Linked DNA regions of Homo sapiens: regions 1 and 3 are each linked to region 2. Evidence: promoter capture Hi-C in 16 types of primary human blood cells and fetal thymus (Javierre and others, 2016). All regions are on one chromosome and are shown on one strand. Each heading gives the region's core, a stretch centred on a gene start or on the middle of the fragment in contact. The rest is flanking DNA. Distances are from core to core; before and after follow the strand shown.

Region 1 (3,524 bases), core at 132-2,631, 290 kb after region 2:
CAGTTTTTAATACTCCTTGGGTTAAATAAGAAATCTAATTTAAAAATTTTTAAGTATTTTGAACTGAATTAAAATCAATACACAACCTATAAAACAGATGTTGGCAATTAAGACTTTCCCTGTGCATACGTGAAACAGATAAGCGTTTTGGGAGTGAGAAAAAAACGGCTCATAATAAAACTGATGGTTTGCAATTTTCAGAAAATAAAATTATGCTTCTGTGTACTGGAGTCTACAGGCTAATTAAGGCAGGCAGTGATTAACACTTTATGGTGTCTGTTCTCAGGGCCTCACCCACCTTCCCAGGCATCTTTCCTTTCTATTGACCCTTTCACCAGACTGAGTCCCTCATCACCCTTGTTTACAGAAGATACGTACTCAAGAACTTTGATCTTTCATCTTTTGAAATATTTTTGCATTTCTTTGAAATGCATCTACCTTGATTATCCATTGCTTGGGAGACTCTAGAACAAAATTTAAATTTCCTTAATCTTCAGACACACTCAGAGCATCAGAACCTTTATGGCCTCCCCTATTTCTAAAACAAATAAGCCAGTGGCCATTTGTTCAATACACCCTGGAAAAGGGCAGCTAGCCAGCTTCCAGTCTATGCTAACAAAGATGCTAATTTGACCGCATTCCTAAGATGAATGAATTCACCACGAGGGCCCTTGAAGCAGCAAGTGTGTTTCAGCTGGCACTACAACATAGCATCTCCAGGACGAAAGGGACTTCAGGGTCCTCTAGTCTAGTACCCATTTGCATTAAATCCCTTCGATGACCTTCCTCCAACTAGTCATCTAGTCCACCATTTTCCAGGAGAGCTTACACCATCAGTTCCTGTGGCTTACAAACAGCTTCCCAGGCTTTGTGCAAGACACTGGTATCCAGAAAATTAACAGCAGCTAGCTCAGCCTTAAGGCACTCACATTATAGAGAATTTTTAGAAAGTCTTCACAAATCTACCTTCGTGTTACCTCTCCCTATAGCTTTTGTTGGGTCATTCATTCATTCATTCAACAAATAGCTATGAAGTACCTACTCTGTGCCAACCAGGGGCTGAGCTGGAGGCTAGTAATACATTGGCAAGTAAGTCAGAGAGTTGGCCCTTTAGTTCATTTACTCTCCAGTTCTCCCCCATGGTGTCCCATACAGGATAAATCTAATCATTCTGCCATATTCTCAGCTCTTTGTGGCAGATGTGAGATTTCTTACTCCTGGTTCTGCATTCAGCATGGTTCAAAGTCCCCTTGCCATCCCAGGAATGTTTCCCTGGACATGCTCCATGATGTAACAGTTACTATCACTCTTAAGTGCGGGCTGTACAGTGGGATTTCTGATTAGTTTAGATTGAAAGGCTGCCAGTAGATGGCCAGAAAACCTTCTTGCCCAGGACTTTTGTGTAAACCATGCTGGAGCCACTGGCTATTCAGCCATGACAACCAGCCAGCCACCAGTTGGTCCCATATACAGTCAATGAGACGCATGGGGACCCTTCTCTGTAACTCTATACAGATGTGGGTGATATTCTCCAAGGCATGATTTGCCTTATCCTGGTGACTTACTCTGAATGTCTGATATTCCTGAACTCCTGTTATACCAAAGCCCTTCTCAAGGGGATGGGGGATGCAGAGATGAAAAGGAGAAATTTCCACCCTCAAAAAGCTGAGAGCAGAAAAAGAGGTCACGTAACTCAGTGGAGGGAGAAGTGACTGGAGCTTAGAGATATAGAGGGGCCATCAAAGACACTTTGTCTGGAACTTAAGATTGGGAAGACTTGGATGGGCAGGAAAGATGGGAGACAGTTTTCCAGAAAAAGAGGATGAACAGGCCAGGCGCAGTGGCTCGCGCCTGTAATCCTAGCACTTTGGGAAGCCGAGGCAAGCGGATCACGAGATCAAGGATCGAGACCATCCTGGCCAACATGGTGAAACCCCATCTCTACTAAAAATACAAAAATTTGCTGGGTGTGGTGGCACACGCCTGTAGTCCCAGATACTCGGGAGGTTGAGGCAGGAGAATTGCTTGAACCTGGGAGGTGGAGGTTGCAGTGAGCCGAGATCGAGCCACTGTGCTCCAGCCTGGGTGACAAAAAAAAAAAGAGGATGAACACAAGAAAACACTCAGAAGCAGAAGTGGGCTCAAGAGAACTGGGTACAACTTCAGAAATGCAACAGCCAACAACAGGCCTGTCCCAAGTACTGGACCCCCAAAGAAATGAGTTTGAATGACACAAAATGTCAACCCAAAGAGCCAAATTGCATTTCTGAAGCCTGTAAGAGTGAAGTTTGTACTCCTCTATGCTAAAAATATTGTCTGCTTCTATTTTCATAACATCTCCACCAGTGGTCAAACTTTAACCAGCATCAGAATCACCCAGAGGGCTTGCAAAAAATGCAGGTTTTCAGGCCCCACACCACAGTTTCTGATTCAAGCGGTCTGGGGTCAGGCCAGGGAGTCTGCATTTCTAACAAGTTCCCACATGACACTGATGCTGCTGGTCTGGGGACCACCCTTGGAAGACGGAATCACTGCTCCATAGCAATAGACAAGTTTTGTGGTGACTTCATCCTAGGTGAATGAAGCACCAGGTCACAAAACAGGATTTGATGAATTCAAGAGGAGCCAGTGTTTGGATTACTGTACTTCAAATCAGTTAGCATGCAGTTTTCTCCAATGTAATAAGCAAGTTCTGTTTGTTTTCCTAGTTTGCTCTTCTTTGCTGAGGTTTGTTTTAGGAGGATATCTAGGATGAAGGAGAGAGGAGAGACAAAAAGGAAAATATGCACACTGTGTTGCTTATGCCTGTGGGGAAGAGGCCAGTCCACGCGAAAAACAATGTTCATAAAGGACAGATAAAGGTCACATGAAGTAATATCTATTGACATCTATTATGTGAAGGGAACCGAGCTTGGCACTTGGTATACAATATTTTACTTAATTCTCTCTCACACATTCACAAATCTATACACGCAAATTAGATAGACACCTACTATGTGCGGCCTACTGTGTTATTATTTGACCACCTACTATGTGCCACCAAGTATTATACCATATGCTTCCCATATAGTTGTGTCTTTTCATCCTTATAACCACACTACAAAGCAGTTACAAGTATCCCACTGTAGAGTAAAGAAAACAAAGCTCAGAGCAGTTAGGGATGTTGTCTGAACTCACCAAGTTGGAATGAAAAGTATGGGCCTTGAAATGTCAGCCCAGGTCTGCCTGACCCTGAAGCCCAAGTTCTTTCTGCTCTGCCCAGTGACCCAGAAAGGGCCAGATAGTGGACTCTGGACTGAACACAAGGCCAACACTCCTAGACGCCAGCTGTCCAACTGGATTTATTCAACAAATAGCTATGAAGTTCCTGCTCTGGGCCACACAACTTGCCTGAAGAGCTAGAAACAGAACAGAGTCCTCTGGAGGTTTTTGAGCAGATGAAAGAGAGAATCAAAGGAGAAATTTTAGAAAATTAATCCAGTGCCTGTCAACCTAAAATAATCAAAAGGCTCAGGATCTGGTTA
Region 2 (3,461 bases), core at 711-3,210:
AAGGAGATCCACTGTGTTTGTGTTGAGGATTCATTACACATGACTCAGTAGAAAATACATGGACTTTGCTAAACCACCTAATAGCTGCTTTTACTGGAAAAAAAAAGAAATTGAAATACAGTGTTTTAAAAGATCACAGCTCTGTGCACAATAGTAAAGACATGGAATCAGTCTAGGTGCCCATCAACAGTGCATTGGATAAAGAACATGTGACATTTTCACACCATGGAATACTACACAGCCATAAAAAAGAATGAAATTTTGTCCTTTGCAGCAACATGGATGTGGCTGGAGGACATTATCTTAAGCAAATTTTTCCAGGAACAGAAAACCAAATATTGCATGTTGTCACTTACAAATGGGAGCTAAACATTGGATACACATGGACACAAAGATGAGAACAATTGGGGACTCCAAAAAGGGGGGAGAGAGGGAGAGAGGAAGGGCTAAAAATGACCCACTGCTCAGTACCTGGTGACAGAATCATTTGTAGCCCAAACCTCAGCATCACACAACATGTAACAAATACGAATATGTACTCTTTGATTCTAAAATAAAAGTTGAAATTATTTTTTAAAAGATGATGAGTTGTGATCAATCTTTCAAAACGTTTCCCCTGTTGTTATATTCATGGATATTTCATGACTTCAGCTTCACTCTTTTTGTCTAAAGAATACAAAATGACTAATTGATTTGCCTAAGCCTGAAAAGACTTTTCTAGAAAAAAACTAGGCAGTGATCGATGTCAGTTGACCTCTGTTAGAAGGTTGACTAATCTGTGCTGTGAGCCCTACAGGTGTAGTTAAATGTAATCACCCAGGACCTAAATATAAAACCCTTTTTAAAAAGAGAATAAGAATCATATTCAATTTTCAGTGCCAATAGAATAGAGGTTTATTTTGGTACATGGAAATAACAAGGTACAAAAATGTTTGCAAAAGACTTTAAGAGAGAGACTTCACTGGACTTCAAGGTTGGAGGCTTTAAGATCTGTGGCCCTACAAATGATGGAGGCAATCTTCAAATTCCTTAGGCATGATGAATAAATGTCCTGAAGTCAAAGAGGTGGGAGGATGTTGGAGGACAATTTGTCAATTTATTAGGAGATTGTCAATGAATTCCTTTGGAAGGAAGGGAGTTTGGACAAAAGGTAGAATGCAAATACAGAATTTCTAAGGATGAGGTTTGCTTATGGGACCCAGATCAATTCTCTTGAACAGTCCGCATGTTTGCAATGAGAGCCTTCATCTGTAGGAAAGGACGTAATAAGGAAGTGGTGTGTTCACAGCAGAGATTTAGCAGCAAGAGGAGGCACAGCACAAGGGGCGGGGGCAGGTGGAGATGACACAGGTTGGGCGATAGCAAGTGGTGTGGCAGGAGACTCGGCCACAGACTGGACGCAGGCAGCAGCAGGGGCGGCAGCAGCTGGATTCACAGCAAGAGGGGCAGCAGCTGCTGGAGATGCAGCAGCTGGGGCGGCAGCAGGTGGGCTGGCAGCACACAGACTGGCAGCACTGGGGTCTGCAGCAGCTGGACACACAGCAGCTGGGGCGGCAGCAAGTGGTCCTGCAGCAGGTGGTCTGACAGCAGCTGGGGCGGCAGCAGGTGGGCTGGCAGCACACAGACTGGCAGCACTGGGGTCTGCAGCAGCTGGACACACAGCAGCTGGGGCGGCAGCAGGTGGTCCTACAGCAGGTGGTCTGACAGCAGCTGGGGCGGCAGCAGGTGGGCTGACAGCACACAGACTGGCAGCACTGGGGCCTGCAGCAGCTGGACACACAGCAGCTGGGGCGGCAGCAGGTGGTCCTGCAGCAGGTGGTCTGGCAGCAGCTGGGGCGGCAGCAGTTCTCCAGGCCACAGCCCTGGTCAGAGCACACAGAGCCACAACAGGAGTTGACCATGGTGTCAGAGGGTGGAGGTTCTCGGTGGGTTTCCAGGAGAGTGAGTGTTCTGAGTTTGATCTCTCCTTGTTCTCTCTTTTGCTTTTTATACCCTGCTGAGAACCACTATGACAATGTGAATAATCTTGTGGTTTGCACATTACTAATAGAGAATCAGTTGTTTTTTAGTAAATTAGATAGTTGTCCTTATCTGGTAAATATTTCTATAAATAGAAAAGGCAACATTTCCTTTTCCTGTTGTATTCTGAGCTATCCAATTTGGTTAAGCCAAGTGAATCAGCTCTCATTCTCCTTCCTTCATCTGATGTGTCTTCTGATGTGTAGACCCATTACATGACATTGTTTGATTGGATTTCATAAGTTAATTCTTTATTTATTTGACTCCTGGATAATAAGTTGAAAATAGATTTTATGATGACTAAATCTCCTCTGCTCTCAAAGAGGTTAAAAATAAATTACATAGAATGCTGGTAGGAAAATGTGATGAAAGATTCATCTTTGGGGGGTGATAGGAGGTAACTTGTGTATAATAAGGAACACTGTGATTCCTTTGAATTTTGTGGCTGGTCAGTGAGATATAAAAGATCCCACTGAAATTCCTGTTTCATGTTATTGACTCTATTTAGCTTGAAACAGATATAATGCAATGATTCATTGCTTTACAAGTAAAAATACATTGGCATGATAGGTCCCTTTATAAATTATTGTTGGCATGTTCTTCAGAGATGGGGATCATAAGGAACATTTTTGTTCTATTTTGTTGGTAAGTCAAGATACCCACTGAATGTGTTTAACTGAAGTGTTATTGAAAGTAGATTTTCTCATACTCGAAAGCTGCTTTTTCTCACAATGTATGTTGGAGATATTTTGCTTGATACATGGAGAAAAGAAACAAAGGATCAAGTTTAATTTCTGTCCTACAGAAGCTTAAACAAGACAAATAAGAAACATGTATAGGAAAGAATTTAGCAACTATTTAGAGAATGGTGTGATTAGTGAACAAAATAACAATTATGTATTTAATCTGTACACTTCCAATGAAAGATGAAACAATACTAATAGTTATAATTTTTTGAGTGCTTACTATGTGTCAGGAATTTTCTGAGTCCTCTATAATTGTTATCTTGTTTATACTTCACAAGGATTCTGCTATGTAGACACAATTTTTCTAAATTCTTTACATCCAAGGTACTTGAGGCCCAGATAGATTGAAGTCACACAGTCTGTAACAGGGAAAGGGCGTCTCTCCTAGAGTGTTCAAGGAACATTTTGCGCATGAACATTTTGCAATTAAATCCCTCCTGATATTTAAAAACAATTATTTATAATTAAAAAGATGCAAGGTATGTTCTCACTCCTAAGTGGGAGTTGAACAATGAGATCACATGGACACAGGGAGGGGAACATCACACACTGGAGCCTGTCGGGGGTGAGGGACAAGGGGAGGGAGAGCATTAGGACAAATACCTGATGCATGTCGGGCTTAAAACCCAGATGACGGATTGATAGGTGCAGCAAACCATCATGGCATATGTATAACTATGTAACAGACCTGCATGT
Region 3 (3,742 bases), core at 639-3,138, 260 kb before region 2:
TGTAATGCTTCCTTTGCCAAGTGAAGACTTATAGGATATTTTGGCCAAGATAGTATCAGAAAAGGACTATTATTTGGGTCTTGCTGGCTGTGCCATGAAATCCTAGCCATTGGAACTTCAATGGGAAATTTTGTGAAATCACGAATTTTTTTCAGATAGTTTTTTCCCCCACGATATAACCCTGCCGGTAGCTGACTTCCCCAAGAGCATATAGTCCAGGAGACCAAGGAAGAACTGAAAGGCCTTTGTGATCTATCTTTGGAGGTCATATACTGTCACTTCTTCAATAAATCTGCTCCTCGTTCATTGTGAGAAGGAACTACACAAGGGAATGAAGACCAGGAGGCAGGGATCACTGGCACCAACCTGGAGGCTGCCACAAGTCACCAATATGTGGGTGCTATTTAAAACCATGGGATTGGCTGGGTGCGGTGGCTCACACCTGTAATCCCAGCACTTTGGGAGGCCGAGGCGGGCAGATCATGAGGTCAAGAGATGGAGACCATCCTGGCCAACATGGCAAAACCCTGTCTCTACCAAAATTACAAAAATTAGCTGGGCGTGGTGGTGTATGCCTATAGCCCCAGCTACTCAGGAGGCTGAGGCAGAAGAATCGCTTGAACCTGGGAGGTGGAGGTTGCAGTGAGCCAAGATTACACCATTGTACTCCAGCCTGGGCAACAGAGCGAGACTCCCTCTCAAACAAACAAACAAAACCCATGGGATAAGATCAGGGAGGAGAGGCTGGGGAGGGATCAGATGAGGTTACCTGGGGAGGGAGTATAGAGAAAAGACAAGAGGATTGAGCCAACATTCAGTCACAGAAGTCTGAGAAAAAGCTGCCTACAGAGTGATGGCTCTGGGAGCTTTGTGGTAAAAAATTTCCAAGAGAAGGGAATGCTGAGAAACTATGGTACTAGCTAATAAATGACCCTTGCATTTATACTTGTGCAAAATCCTTTCCCCTTTGAGTCTCACACCATTCTTATGTAGTTGTAAGGAAAACAGATGTTATTTAAAGCAGTAACTATTTGCAGACACTTTTGAGCACCAGGGAAGTAGAATCCTTTATTTATTACTTGGGGGCTGTGGACCTTGTTCAGAGGCCTTGATAAAATCCTTTTGAGTCTGAAAGGTAAAGGTTACCCTAGGATGTGTGCTGGAAGGTGAAGGCTAGACAAAGAGAGCTGAGCGTATAATAAAGTGAGATGAGTGGAGGATCTGAAACCATTAAAAATATTTTTTTCTTTTCTTTTTTTTGAGACAGGGTCTTACTCTGTTGCCCAGGCTGGAGTGCAGTGGCACGATAACAGCTCACTGCATTCTTGACCTTCCCAGGCTCAGGTAATCCTTCCACCTCAGCCTCCCAAGTAGCTGGGACTACAGGTGTGCACCCCCACACCCGACTAATTTTTTTTTATTTTTTAAATTTTTTTTGTAGAGACAGAGTTTTACCATGTTGTCCAGGCTGGTCTTGAATTCCTGGGCCCAAGCAATCTGCCCATATTGGCCTCCCAAAGTGCTGGGATTACAGACGTGAGCCACTGCATCTGGCCATATAAATGATATTAAAAGGAAAAGCTGCATACTGAAGCAAATCAGCTTAAGTTGGCTGACTAGCCATTGGCCTTTGGACTCAGCTCTGGAATTCCTCTTGTCTAACACAACTCCTCCCTCTCCCTTCTGCTTCTTTGACACTCCTTATTCACCATGTCTCCTTGTTTCTTCATCCCACTTTGGTTTCATACAGTAAATAATAATAAGACACAAATATTGAGTACTTTCTAGGTGCCAATAGTTTCCAGGTTCCTAGTGCTTTAGGTACACGACCTCATTTCATCTTCACAAAACCCGTGCCATGAAGCAGGTGCAGTCATTGCTATCATTTCCACTTTAAGAAACTGAGGAACACAGAGGTTAAATTACTTGTTATTAAGTAGCAGAGCCGGAAATTGAACCCAGTGTGATGTTAGAGGCCAGGCTCTTAATCATTGAATTTTGCCCATTTTCCTTTTAGGGTTTTGAATTTGGCAACCCATGTTGAACCACCATCTACTCAGGCTGAGACTTTGGCTGCCTTTTTCCCTAATGCAGAACATGATTTTTGTTACTGACTTGTGGGTCTGACCTGCCCCAGTGGGGACCCCACCCTGGGCCTCACTGCTGCCAGCTAGGAGAAAGGAGAGCAGAACCATGTTTGTTCACACCCTCTGTCTTTTCACATGTATTTGCCCTGTTGCCTTTCTCCCTCGTCTACCTGGATGATTTCTTTATGTAGCATTTCATTGCCCCTCCTGGAAAATTGTTCACTTCTTCCATGTGTCCTTCGAAGTTCTGTTTGTTTTCTTTTTTTTGCTTTTTTTTTTTTTGAGACAGAGTCTCACTCTATTGCCATGCTGGAGTGCAGTGGTGCAATCTTGGCTCACTGCAACCTTCGCCTCCCGGGTTCAAGTGATTCGCCTGCCTCAGCCTCCTGAGTAGCTGGGATTACAGCCACCTGCAACTGCACCCGGCTAATTTTTGTATTTTTAGTTAAGATGGGGTTTCACCATGTTGGCCAGGATGGTCTTGATCTCTTGAGCTCATGATCTGCCCGCCTCAGCCTCCCAAAGTGCTGGGATTACGGGCGTGAGCCATGGTGCCCAGCCCTTTGAACTTCTATTCAACAGATCTCACTGTATCAACATTCTTGGTAGGTGTTTATCTCTGCCCTCAACCATGAGCTCCTCAAGGCAAGGACCATATCATATTCATCACTGAGCCTCCAACCTGGCACACTGTAGGGGCTCAGCGTTTCTTGACTGCATGAATGATGGTGCTAGAAAATGAACAGGACAACTCTCAACTGCTGTAGTAGACAATATAATTTTGCTACAACCTTGATGAGCTTACATAAAAAGGCCAGAACTTCTAAAAGAATCTTCTTTTAGCTTAATCCTCAAACCCTGACATCTTCATCCCAGTTTTATCTACATTATCATTATTATCATTATTAATGTTGTGTAGAGATGGGGGTCTCTCTATGTTGTCCAGGCTGGTCTTGAACTCCGGGCCTCAAGCAATCATCTTGCCTCTCAGCCTCCCAAAGTGCTGGGATTATAGGTGTGAGTCATTACTCCCAGCCTCTATTTTATTAGTAGTATTTCAAAAACTTCTCTCTATGCTCTTGACATTCTTGTTGGAATCAAGGCATACATTTCACATTATTACCATTCATCTTTTATTACAATTAACTCTATTAAAACAATACTACTTGATTAAAGCTCTATGATTAAAAAATATTCCGGGTTACCAGAAGAAAGTTCGTTAAAAGACTACTCCAGGTCCAGAAGGATATAAGGTAATTTTGATTTGTTACAAAGACCAACATGACCAAAATGACTTGTGACTGAATATTGTTTCAGAAGGGCAAAAAGGATTCAATGTGAATAGGGAATCCAAAGAAAATGGAACAGACAAAAATAGGGATTGAAGTAATACAGCATGTTACTCTGAAAGGAATAATTTCTACTTGTAAATTTCTTGTTCCTAAGGAACCAATCATGGGGCAGATCTTGTGAAATTTTACATTAGTTCTTCAATTTCCTGAACTTGAGATGAGACCACCTCACCATTCACCATCTCCTGCACAACTGTCTTGATTTTTCGGGTTTTGGTTGGGTCTAAAGATAAAAATGGAATAAGGGGGCAAGAGTTAGTGTTTCAAATATTAATCCAACACTGGTTGTTTAATGTAGGCTTC

The links. Contacts are between HindIII fragments. The CHiCAGO score rates a contact against its expected background, and 5 or more counts as called.
Region 1: a contact is called between a fragment that was not itself captured here and the fragment with the promoter of KRTAP4-12 in region 2, in 6 of 17 cell types (total CD4 T cells, naive CD8 T cells, naive CD4 T cells and 3 more). The highest score is 6.3, in total CD4 T cells.
Region 3: a contact is called between a fragment that was not itself captured here and the fragment with the promoter of KRTAP4-12 in region 2, in 1 of 17 cell types (neutrophils). The highest score is 5.1, in neutrophils.

Annotation. Positions count from the first base shown.
Region 1 is chr17:41,412,890-41,416,413 of GRCh38, forward strand. No RefSeq gene overlaps it. Among named protein-coding and RNA genes, the nearest start is that of KRT37, 9.9 kb to the right of the region's middle. The HindIII fragment of the contact is 7,068 bases long and covers 1-3,524 here.
Region 2 is chr17:41,122,222-41,125,682 of GRCh38, forward strand. KRTAP4-12 (keratin associated protein 4-12) reads right to left here and starts at 1,961. Exons shown (of 1, transcript NM_031854.3): 1 at 870-1,961. The coding sequence starts at 1,901. The coding sequence ends at 1,296. RefSeq lists an enhancer at 1,088-1,641. The HindIII fragment of the contact is 5,176 bases long and covers 1-2,825 here.
Region 3 is chr17:40,858,097-40,861,838 of GRCh38, forward strand. All of the region lies in intron 1 of LOC105371777 (a long non-coding RNA gene), which reads left to right. It overlaps KRT12 (keratin 12), which reads right to left. Exons shown (of 8, transcript NM_000223.4): 8 at 3,207-3,662. The coding sequence ends at 3,565. Among named protein-coding and RNA genes, the nearest start is that of KRT12, 7.3 kb to the right of the region's middle. The HindIII fragment of the contact is 5,577 bases long and covers 1-3,742 here.